Regions from separate parts of the Homo sapiens genome. Here regions 1 and 2 are each linked to region 3. Evidence: promoter capture Hi-C in 16 types of primary human blood cells and fetal thymus (Javierre and others, 2016). All regions are on one chromosome and are shown on one strand. The core of a region is centred on a gene start or on the middle of the fragment in contact, and the rest is flanking DNA. Distances in the headings are between cores, read along the strand shown. Region 1 overlaps NOL10 (nucleolar protein 10). Region 2 overlaps NOL10 (nucleolar protein 10). Region 3 holds the start of CYS1 (cystin 1).

Region 1 (3,195 bases), core at 170-2,669, 580 kb before region 3:
TTTCTTCTTTAGTTCTTAGTTATCATAATATTGTCAAACTAAATGTTTGCATTTTGTGCTTTTTGAAGTGCCTAAGAGGGGAGGTTTGGCAATGGAAATATTCAAATTTAGGTAATAGAAAATCAGTGTGCTTAAAAATACATTTTGTATTTACACTGGAAGTTATCTGCATACCCATTTTGTGTTTTTGGAATGCAACTTTTCTTTTTTATGTCCATAAAATTTATTAACTCATTTTGAGAAGACATAGAAGACTAGACCATTTGGAATTACCTGCTGTAGTTTAAAAAGGTTTCCCTTCGATTATTCATCTTTGCAACATACCTACTTGTAATAATATTAAAAGATTAATGAGGTCAGAACCTCCTAAGTATATTGAAGGGTTTGCTTTTAAGGTAGTTAATATATTAAACAATCTTAAAACATCTTTGTTTATGTTTTTGTTTTATCATTACAAAATCAAATGATAGACAAGAACACAAAGTGAAAAGTGTAATTCCCTTCCACCCTGTCCTATTCCTGTTTCCTTAGGTAAATACTGTTAATAATTTGCTGTGTATCCTCTCAGGTTTTTCTGTTTGCACAAGCATTTTTTTAAAAACACAAATGTTGGCTGGGTGTGGTGGCTCACGTCCGTCATCCCAGCTCTTTGGAAGTGCGAGTGGGTGGAACGCTTGAGTCCAGGAGTTCGAGACCAGCCTGGGCAACATGGCGACACCTCTTCTCTACCAAAAATCCAAAAATTAGACAGGCGTGGTGCATACCATAGATGCAGCTACTGGGGAAGCTGAGGTGAGAGGATGGATTGAGCCTACAAGGTGGAGGCTGCAATACGCTGTGATTGTGCCCTGCACTCCAGCTGGGCGACTGAACAAGACCTTGTCTCAAACACACAAACAACGACCCCTCATTTAAAAAAGTAAATTGCTTTTTTGTGGACACAATTCTAGTACATGTATATTCACATCATTCTTTGTAATGGCTAATACTCAGTTTAAATGGACGTACTACAGTTTCTCCATTCTGTTTTTTTTTGAGACAGTCTTGCTTTGTTTCCCAGGCTGGACTCGGCTCACCGCAATGTCTGCCTCCCAGGTTCAAGCGATTCTCTTGCCTCAGGCTCCCGAATAGCTGGGATTACAAGCACCTGCCACCATGCCCAGCTAATTTTGTATTTTTAGTAGAGACGGGGTTTCACCATTGGCCAGGCTGGTCTCGAACTCCTGACCTCAGGTGATCCACCTACCTCGGCCTTCAAAAGTGCTGGGATTACAGGCATAAGCCACCATGCCCGGCCTGTTCTGTTTTTTTGGGTTTTTTTTTTTTTTAGACGGAGTCTCTCTCTGTTGCCTAGGCAGGAGTGCAGTGGCACGCTCAGCTCGCTGTAGCCTCTGCCTCCCGGGTTCAAGCAATTCTCCTGCCTCAGCCTCCTAGTGTGTGGGATTACGGGCATGCGCCACTATGCCTGGCTAATTTTGTATTTTTTTTTTTTTTGGAGACGGAGTCTCGCTCTGTCGCCCAGGCTGGAGTGCAGTGGTGCGATCTCGGCTCACTGCAAGCTCCAGCCTCCCGGGTTCATGCCATTCTCCTGCCTCAGCCTCCCAAGTAGCTGGGACTAAAAGCGCCCGCCACCATGCCCGGCTAATTTTTTGTATTTTTTAGTAGAGACTGGGTTTCACTGTGTTAGCCAGGATGGTCTCGATCTCCTGACCTCGTGATCTCCCCATCTTGGCCTCCCAAAGTGCTGGGATTACAGGCGTGGCCACCGCGCCTGGCCGGGATTCTTCTTTTCATTAAAAAAAATTTTCCCCAGCTTTTTATTTTTAAAAAGTTCACATCTTTGTAAAAGTTTAGTGATATATATATTTTGCATTTTCTTTTCCCATAAAAATGTACATGTATTAAAAATGTTTTTTGAACCTTTTGAAAATAAGTTGCAGGCATTATGATATTTCTTCCCTAAATACTTTAAAATGGATTTCTTAAAAATAAGGACTTTTTCTATGAAATAAACAATGTTAATGTGGTTTATTTTTGTATGTGTTTTAAGGATTTCTTAGCAGCTTTTTTTTTTTTTTTGAGACGAAGTCTTGCTCTGTCGCTCAGACTGGTGTGCAGTGGCATAATCTCGGCTCACTGCAACCTCCACCTCCCGGGTTCAAGCAGTTCTTCTGCCTTAGCCTCCCAAGTAGCTGGGATTACAGGCGTGCACCACATACCCAGCTAATTTTTTGTATTTTTAGTAGAAACAGAGTTTCGCCATGTTAGTCAGACTAGTCTCAAACTCCTGGCTTCAGGTGATCAGCCCGCCTCGGCCTCCCAAAGTGCTGGGATTACAGGCATGAGCCACCATGCCCCGCCTTCTACAGCTTTTATTTAAAATTGTTTTTCATTTGCATAGGGTAGAGTGGAGTGCTGGGACCCAAGAACTCGAAACAGAGTTGGCCTGTTAGACTGCGCCTTAAACAGTGTCACAGCAGATTCAGAGTAAGTAGAAATTAATTTGCAATGTAAATGTTCATCAACTTTTAATTTAAGTAATGTGTCTATATTAAATTCAAATAAATTGCTACAGGATATCTGAAATTGTACTTTCCATGATTGTTTTTCATAAAGATCCTCTCCTGTAAAAGCTCACTAGTGAGTAAGCCAGATAGAATTTCTTTCCAAAATACTATACAGAAGGCCTTATTTCTTTAGTTGCTGTACGATTTTATTAAAACAATTACACTACAGGAATTTGTATTCCAATTTTGTAGAATCTAGTGATAGAACCAGGAGTCCACCACAAAGTCCACAGAGGTGTGCTTTGAATTCTAAGGTGGAAGGAAGCAAGTGTTTTTTTAATATTTTCTTGTTCCTGTTTGCCTAATTTCTACATTTAAACCAATCAGAAGAGTTTTCACTATTATACATCCATTTACAGTTTTATGATTATTTCCTGAGAAATGATACCTAGAACCTGAATTTCTGGATTAAATAGCATACATGTTTTGAAGGTTTTTGGTACATTGCTAAATTGCCCTACAGAAAACATAACCTCAGGTTAAATGTCTCCCTGCATGCCCAGAGCATACATTGCTCACTCTCCTCAGCCTGGGACGTCCATCACAGCACTGCTAATAATAAGTCTTAGAAAGAGCCTGAGGATATTGATTAAATAAAGCTTAGTAGAAATAGTAGCTGACAGATAGT
Region 2 (2,860 bases), core at 337-2,836, 540 kb before region 3:
TCCCGGCCCGTCCATGTTGTACCATGTCTCAGTACTTTATTCCTTTTGATTGCTGAGTGACATTCCATTGTGTGGATATTATCACATTTGTTCACCCATTCATCAGTGGATGAATGTCATTATCCAGTTTTTACTAAGTCCAGTGTTTGGACTTAGTGAAGTAGCTAGTCTCTTAAAGATGAGTTCTCTGGCAACTTTCCCCCTCCCTTCATATGGACCCTGCTTTTCTTGTTTCTTTGTGTGTCCTGTAATTTTTTTGTTGGAAGCTGGATGCTTTAAGTAACATAATTTAGGAATTATGGAACTCAGTCCCTCCCCCAGGTCCCCAGGGTTTGTGGTTGTTTGTTTAGTGACTGTCCTGGACTAATTCTATAAAATCTGATTTCTTTCTAACGTGTGACCACTGAAGTCTCTGCTCGTTGCCGAACTGTCAGCTAATGAATAAACAGAGATTTCCTTCAATGCCCGGAACCAGTCAGTCGCCCAGCCTCTGCCAGAGTGATCCTCATGAATGCCCCTGCTCACCATTGCTCTCTCTATTCAAGCCACACTGGGCTGGTCTTTTTACTGATCCACAAACATGCCAAGCAATTCCAACCTCTAGGCCTTTGTAGTTGTCAGGTAGTCTTGAGGGTCACTCCCTCCTGCCCCTTGGGTCCCTGTCCATCATCTCCCCTTCCCCTCTATTCTTCATTGCCTTCTCTCCTTCAGTTTCCACAGCACCAGTCTCTGTCTGTCATACTCTCCACTGCCTCTCCCTTGTTTGTAGTTTCCCCTTTCTGGAAGGTAAGCTCCTTGAGGGTGGGGATTGTTCTGTGTTTTGTCACTGAGTATCTAGAGAGAAGGGAAAGTGCCTGCCTCTTTGTTGAATAAGTGAATGGGGAGGTAACTCTTTGTTGAATAAGTGAATGGGGAGGTAACTCTTTGTTGAATAAGTGAATGGGGAGGGAGCTTAGGCAACCTGTTCTTATTTAAGAATGAGGGCCAGACGTGGTGTCTCACTCCTGTAATCCCAGCACTTTGGGAGGCCGAGGCCAGTGGATCACTATAGCTCAGGAGTTCAAGACCAGCCTGGGCAACATGGCGAAACTACATCTCTACAAAAGATACAAAAATTAGCTGGGCATGGTGGCACACACCTGTAGTCCCAGCTACTTGAAGGGCTGAGGTGGGAGGATTGCTTGAACCTGGGAGGTTGAGGTGGCGGTGAGCTGAGATCGCACCACTGCACTCTAGTCTGGGTGATAAAGTGAGACCCTGTTTCAAAAAAACAAAAAAAAATGAAGAATGAGGTGCTAAAATGCCAACTGGGGCCAGACACGGTGGCTCATGCCTGTACTCCCAGCACTTTGGGAGGCCAAGGCGGGCGGATCACCTGAGGCCAGGAATTTGAGAATAGCCTGGCCAACATGGTGAAACCCCGTCTCTACTAAAAATACAAAAATTAGCCAGGCGTAGTGGCACACGCCTGTAATCCCAGCTACTTGGCAGGCTGAGGCACAAGAATCCAGGAGGCAGAGGTTGCAGTGAGCCGAGATCGCACCACTGCACTCCAACCTGGGTGACAGAGCAAGACTCTGCCTCAAAAAAAAAAAAAAAAAAAAAAAAAAAAATGCAGGGTGGTGTTGTCCACTGGTAGTTTTCATGTGGACCCTTCAGCTAATGACTCTACCCAGATATCAATATCTTAAAGTCTGTCTTCTGGGACCTTTCATTTACTCCAGAGAAGAATCCCCCAGTTTTGTTCTGAGGTGTTAGGGGTTTGGGCTGGTAGAGTGGACGCACAGCAGCATAGGCTTGACTTTGGCATTCCAGGGGCTGGGAAAAGGAGGCGAGGGTCCCACAGTTTGATGTCTAGACTGCCATTAATTGTCCTGACTTTAGCCCCACAGCTCAAGTCACCTGTGCCTGGTGGCATACTCCCCACCCACCCCGCACATAGGGCAGCTTTGGTTCCCCTCCTCCAGAGAATTATCTTCTGGTCTCTTTAGGCATGGTGGGGATTTGGGTGTTCATCAGCTCCATTGTTCCCCCTTTATTCGGGCCTGTGCCTCATCCTGTCGTCCCCCATGCTTAGAGCCTTGAAGTTCTTGTCCCAAGGATTCTGAGAGAGGAATCTTTTCTCTTTGCTGTTCACCTCTGTAAGCTCTCATGTTTACCCGGTTAAGTTTCTTAAATTACTGCATCTTCTTCTTCAGTTCTTTTTGTCCTTAAAGGTTAATACCTTTTAAAAGTTATTTACTGTCATTTTAAAAAGGCTTGACAGCGATGGGGGTACCACTATTAACCAAAAGCTCTCTGTGTTTCTTAACATCAGTTTTAATTTGGTGTTTAAATGTTTGCTTGGGGCGTCCTGTCTCTGCTAGCCCTTGACTGAAGGCACTCTGTCATGTGTATCTCTACTCATAGTGTCACAAAAATTGACTATTGCTTGATGGGCTATTAGTGAGATAGTGGCTTAAGGAATCTTAACAATTTTTTTTTAACTTGGCCTTATTTTTCTTGTTATTTCATTTCAGTCCCTAAATTATCTTTTCAAATATTAAGTCATGGCAGGTAATAGTTTTTCTTTTTTAAAAATAAATCTTTTAAAATGTTGAAATTAAATTGCTTCTTTGCTAATCTGATTTTTAAGAACAAAACACTACAAGTAGAGTACATTTAAATGACTCATAATTACTCACACAAATGCATGTAAACTTGGATATGCAATTAGGCAGCTCATTATGCTGCAAATGCAATTACATGCTTAAGGTCATGGCCACTCCCTCTGGCTCACCCAGTGTTCTCTTGGGTTTATGATCATTTATTAAGCCTCAGCTGTCAGAATTTGAAAATACATGCTGCTGCTCCTAGTGAG
Region 3 (2,964 bases), core at 3-2,502:
GTGTTAGCCAGGATGGTCTCGGTCTCTTGACCTCGTGATCCACCTGCCTCGGCTTCCCAAAGTGCTGGGATTACGGGCGTGAGCCACCGCGCCCGGCCTCTTGTTCTCTCTTAATAATAAAAATAAATGGATGTGAATCTGAGTCCCATTTTTATTCCATTTTCTTAGGCATATGTTTTTTAATGTCTACTCCTGAAGTGATAAAATAGTAGAATTTCAAGTCTGTGGTTGGGAAAGTTTAGCCGAAATTCCATTTTCACAATTATTCTGGAATCCAATCAATCAGGATAAAAGTTAATGTCAAGTCAAGATAGGTGAGTTAAACCCAGGACTTTTGAATTGCCCTGTCTTGGAAAGGCTGGAATTTAAAGTTGCAGGAGGTGGGCAAGGGAAGGAAGTAATCACATTTAAGTAAAACACAGAACCAACCAACAGGAAGGCTCGCTGGGTTTGAATTCGGCAGCTTTGGAGTGTTTTCTAGTCTGGGTTGTGGTTAGTTCACTTAAAAAGAAAAGCGGTTAAGGGAAAAAAAAAAAAAATCCGAGACCAAAAGCTAGACTTATGACCACCACCTAGGTATTTCCTTTTGCTTCTTTCCTGTGGCGGGGGGAGGGCGAGGTGGGGGTTGCTTTGCCTTTCTCCTTCATTTTCAAAGTTTTTCTTTCCCAAAAGTAGTGACTATTTGGAGGTTTTGATGAGGCTCAACCTTCACACATCCAGTCTCCGCTGGGGCAACAGAGGGAAGGAGAAGGCCGGAGGGGGCTGTTGGTGCCCGGAGGATCGCCCCTTCCCTCCCGGGGCGTCTCAGGCCTGGCGGACACTGAAAGGTCGGGGCGCACTGACGGCCGGACCTCGCGAACGCAGCGCGCGCAGCCCTCAGGGTCTTTCCCCCGCCCACCCCGCGCATCGCTAGGGGGCTCAGGCTTTGGGAAGTCCCCCCAAGCTCCCGCGGCCTCCCACGGGCCCGGCGAGCGTCGTCTGGGGAGCGTTTCCATAAATGAACAAACTCAGCCGGGCCCCCCGCAGGGTTCAGCAATTCCAGAAGGCCGGGACAGGGCTGACCCGACGGCGGGGAGCGAGGGGACCCGTGGGCGGGAGTGGGGGGACTGTAGGGGGAGACCCGGGAGGGGAGGCCGCGCCCGCACCCGGTGCTCCTCGCCGGGGTCTCGGGCCCGCCCCTCCCTAGGGCCGGTGTGCGCCCCCTCGGGACGCCTATGCAGCCCTGCCTCGCCCGCCCCTCCCCAGGCTCCGGCTCGCACCCCCGTCCTCCGGCCGCGACCCCCGCCCGGGAACCCTAGCCCCTGGCCGCGGTCGCTTCCCGGACCTCGCCCCGCGCCTCCCCCTGCAGCCCGCCCCGGCCGCACCCCCTAGCGTCCCCGCCCCCGGCCGCGCCCCCTCATGGGGGCCCCCTCGGCGGTCCGGGAGGCGGCGGGCGCGCCATGGGCAGCGGCAGCAGCCGGAGCAGCCGGACTCTGAGGCGGCGGCGCAGCCCCGAGAGCCTCCCCGCGGGGCCCGGAGCGGCAGCCCTGGAGGGCGGGACCCGCCGGCGGGTGCCGGTGGCGGCGGCCGAGGTCCCGGGGGCAGCCGCGGAGGAGGCGCCCGGCCGCGACCCCAGCCCCGTGGCGCCCCCCGACGGCAGGGACGAGACGCTGCGCCTGCTGGACGAGCTGCTGGCCGAGTCGGCGGCCTGGGGCCCCCCGGAGCCCGCCCCGCGCCGCCCAGCCCGGCTCCGACCCACCGCGGTCGCGGGGAGCGCGGTGAGTGTGGGAGCCGCAGGGCCTCGGGGGACGGCGGGGACCCCACTCACCGGCCGCGCGTCCCCGCCCCAGCCCTGGGCGCCGGTCGCGCTGCGCCCCCTTCCAGCCTCCGACTTGCGTGCTCCCCGCTGCCCCGGCCTCCCCGCCCCTGGGCCCCCAGGTTTCCTCCCTCTCTGCCCCGTCTCCGGGTCTGTGTCCAGGCGTGGGGGCGATCGCGCTGGGAGCGGCCGAGGAAGGACACCCCTAGGCGGAGCGCGCCGGGCTCCCGGCTCCCCTCGGGCCCGCGGCCCCGCCTGGCCTTCCCGGGCCGCCCTGGAGCGGGGCGCCGGCGGTGGTGGCACGGCAGCCAGACGGTGGCTCAGAAGCGCCCTGCCGCGCCCACCGGTCCAGATCCTTGCCTTGCTGGGCAGGCAATTCTCATGTTACTGATATTTTTAGGATGCTGCGGAATCTCTTTTGCGCTTCCTATTCTCTCTCCCTGAATACTCGTAATAACAGTCCTGCTGTTCTAAAAAAACAATAAAACAAGCACTCTGGTTTGGCAACCGTCTTCGCTCCAGCAGAGCTGAATGAACAAGATCTTTAACATCCGCTCCCGGGCTCGGGGAGGATGCCAAGGGCCTCGTCCTCCTCCCTGAGGCCCGGGAGGCTTTGCTTAGCAGCCGCTGGGAGCCGAGGAAGATGCCTTCCTGGGTGGCTACCGCACCAAGGAATCCTGAAAAGGCCCCAGGGAGGGTGGGGGAGAGGGACAGCCCCAGGCGACAGTGCACAGAGCTCTCTCCCTCTGGCCCTGGTTCCCTGCTCCTCTCCCTTACGGTCTTTAAAGAGGAAAAGCGAGCTGCAGTGAGTAGGGCTGAATTATATAACAAGATTCCTTTAATACCACATCAGCCTGCAGTTATATAACACTGCCTGGACAAATAGCTGAGAAATTTGGGAGGAATTCACACATAGCAAGGAGGCAGTTAATTTTAGTGTTCATTTTCAAGTGCTTTGGAAACTCGGAGGTGAAAATGAGAGGCAAATAGCAAGAGTGAATGTTGTGCCCTCTGATTTGCTGATATTATTCATCATGGTGACTGCTCGCTCTTTAAGTCATTTTCCAGCTATCCTTTGAGCACCGGTCCCGCTGTGGGTGCTAGGGATGAGGCCACACAGCATAGCCCTTGCCTTAAAGAAGTCTGCAGCTCGATGGGGGAAAGTAGAA

What was found. The method cuts DNA at HindIII sites, captures the fragments that hold promoters and counts their contacts. A CHiCAGO score of 5 or more calls a contact.
Region 1: a contact is called between a fragment that was not itself captured here and the fragment with the promoter of CYS1 in region 3, in 17 of 17 cell types (naive B cells, naive CD8 T cells, total B cells and 14 more). The highest score is 21.0, in naive B cells.
Region 2: a contact is called between a fragment that was not itself captured here and the fragment with the promoter of CYS1 in region 3, in 1 of 17 cell types (total CD4 T cells). The highest score is 5.5, in total CD4 T cells.

What each region holds. Positions count from the first base shown.
Region 1 is chr2:10,662,251-10,665,445 of GRCh38, reverse strand. It overlaps NOL10 (nucleolar protein 10), which reads left to right. Exons shown (of 21, transcript NM_024894.4): 9 at 2,402-2,487. Among named protein-coding and RNA genes, the nearest start is that of NOL10, 26 kb to the left of the region's middle. The HindIII fragment of the contact is 3,499 bases long and covers 1-3,168 here.
Region 2 is chr2:10,614,971-10,617,830 of GRCh38, reverse strand. All of the region lies in intron 13 of NOL10 (nucleolar protein 10), which reads left to right. Among named protein-coding and RNA genes, the nearest start is that of NOL10, 74 kb to the left of the region's middle. The HindIII fragment of the contact is 5,417 bases long and covers 1-2,860 here.
Region 3 is chr2:10,078,699-10,081,662 of GRCh38, reverse strand. CYS1 (cystin 1) reads left to right here and starts at 1,252. Exons shown (of 3, transcript NM_001037160.3): 1 at 1,252-1,757. The coding sequence starts at 1,440. RefSeq lists silencers at 938-1,177, 1,348-1,407, 1,468-1,707, 1,778-2,117. The HindIII fragment of the contact is 11,698 bases long and covers 1-2,964 here.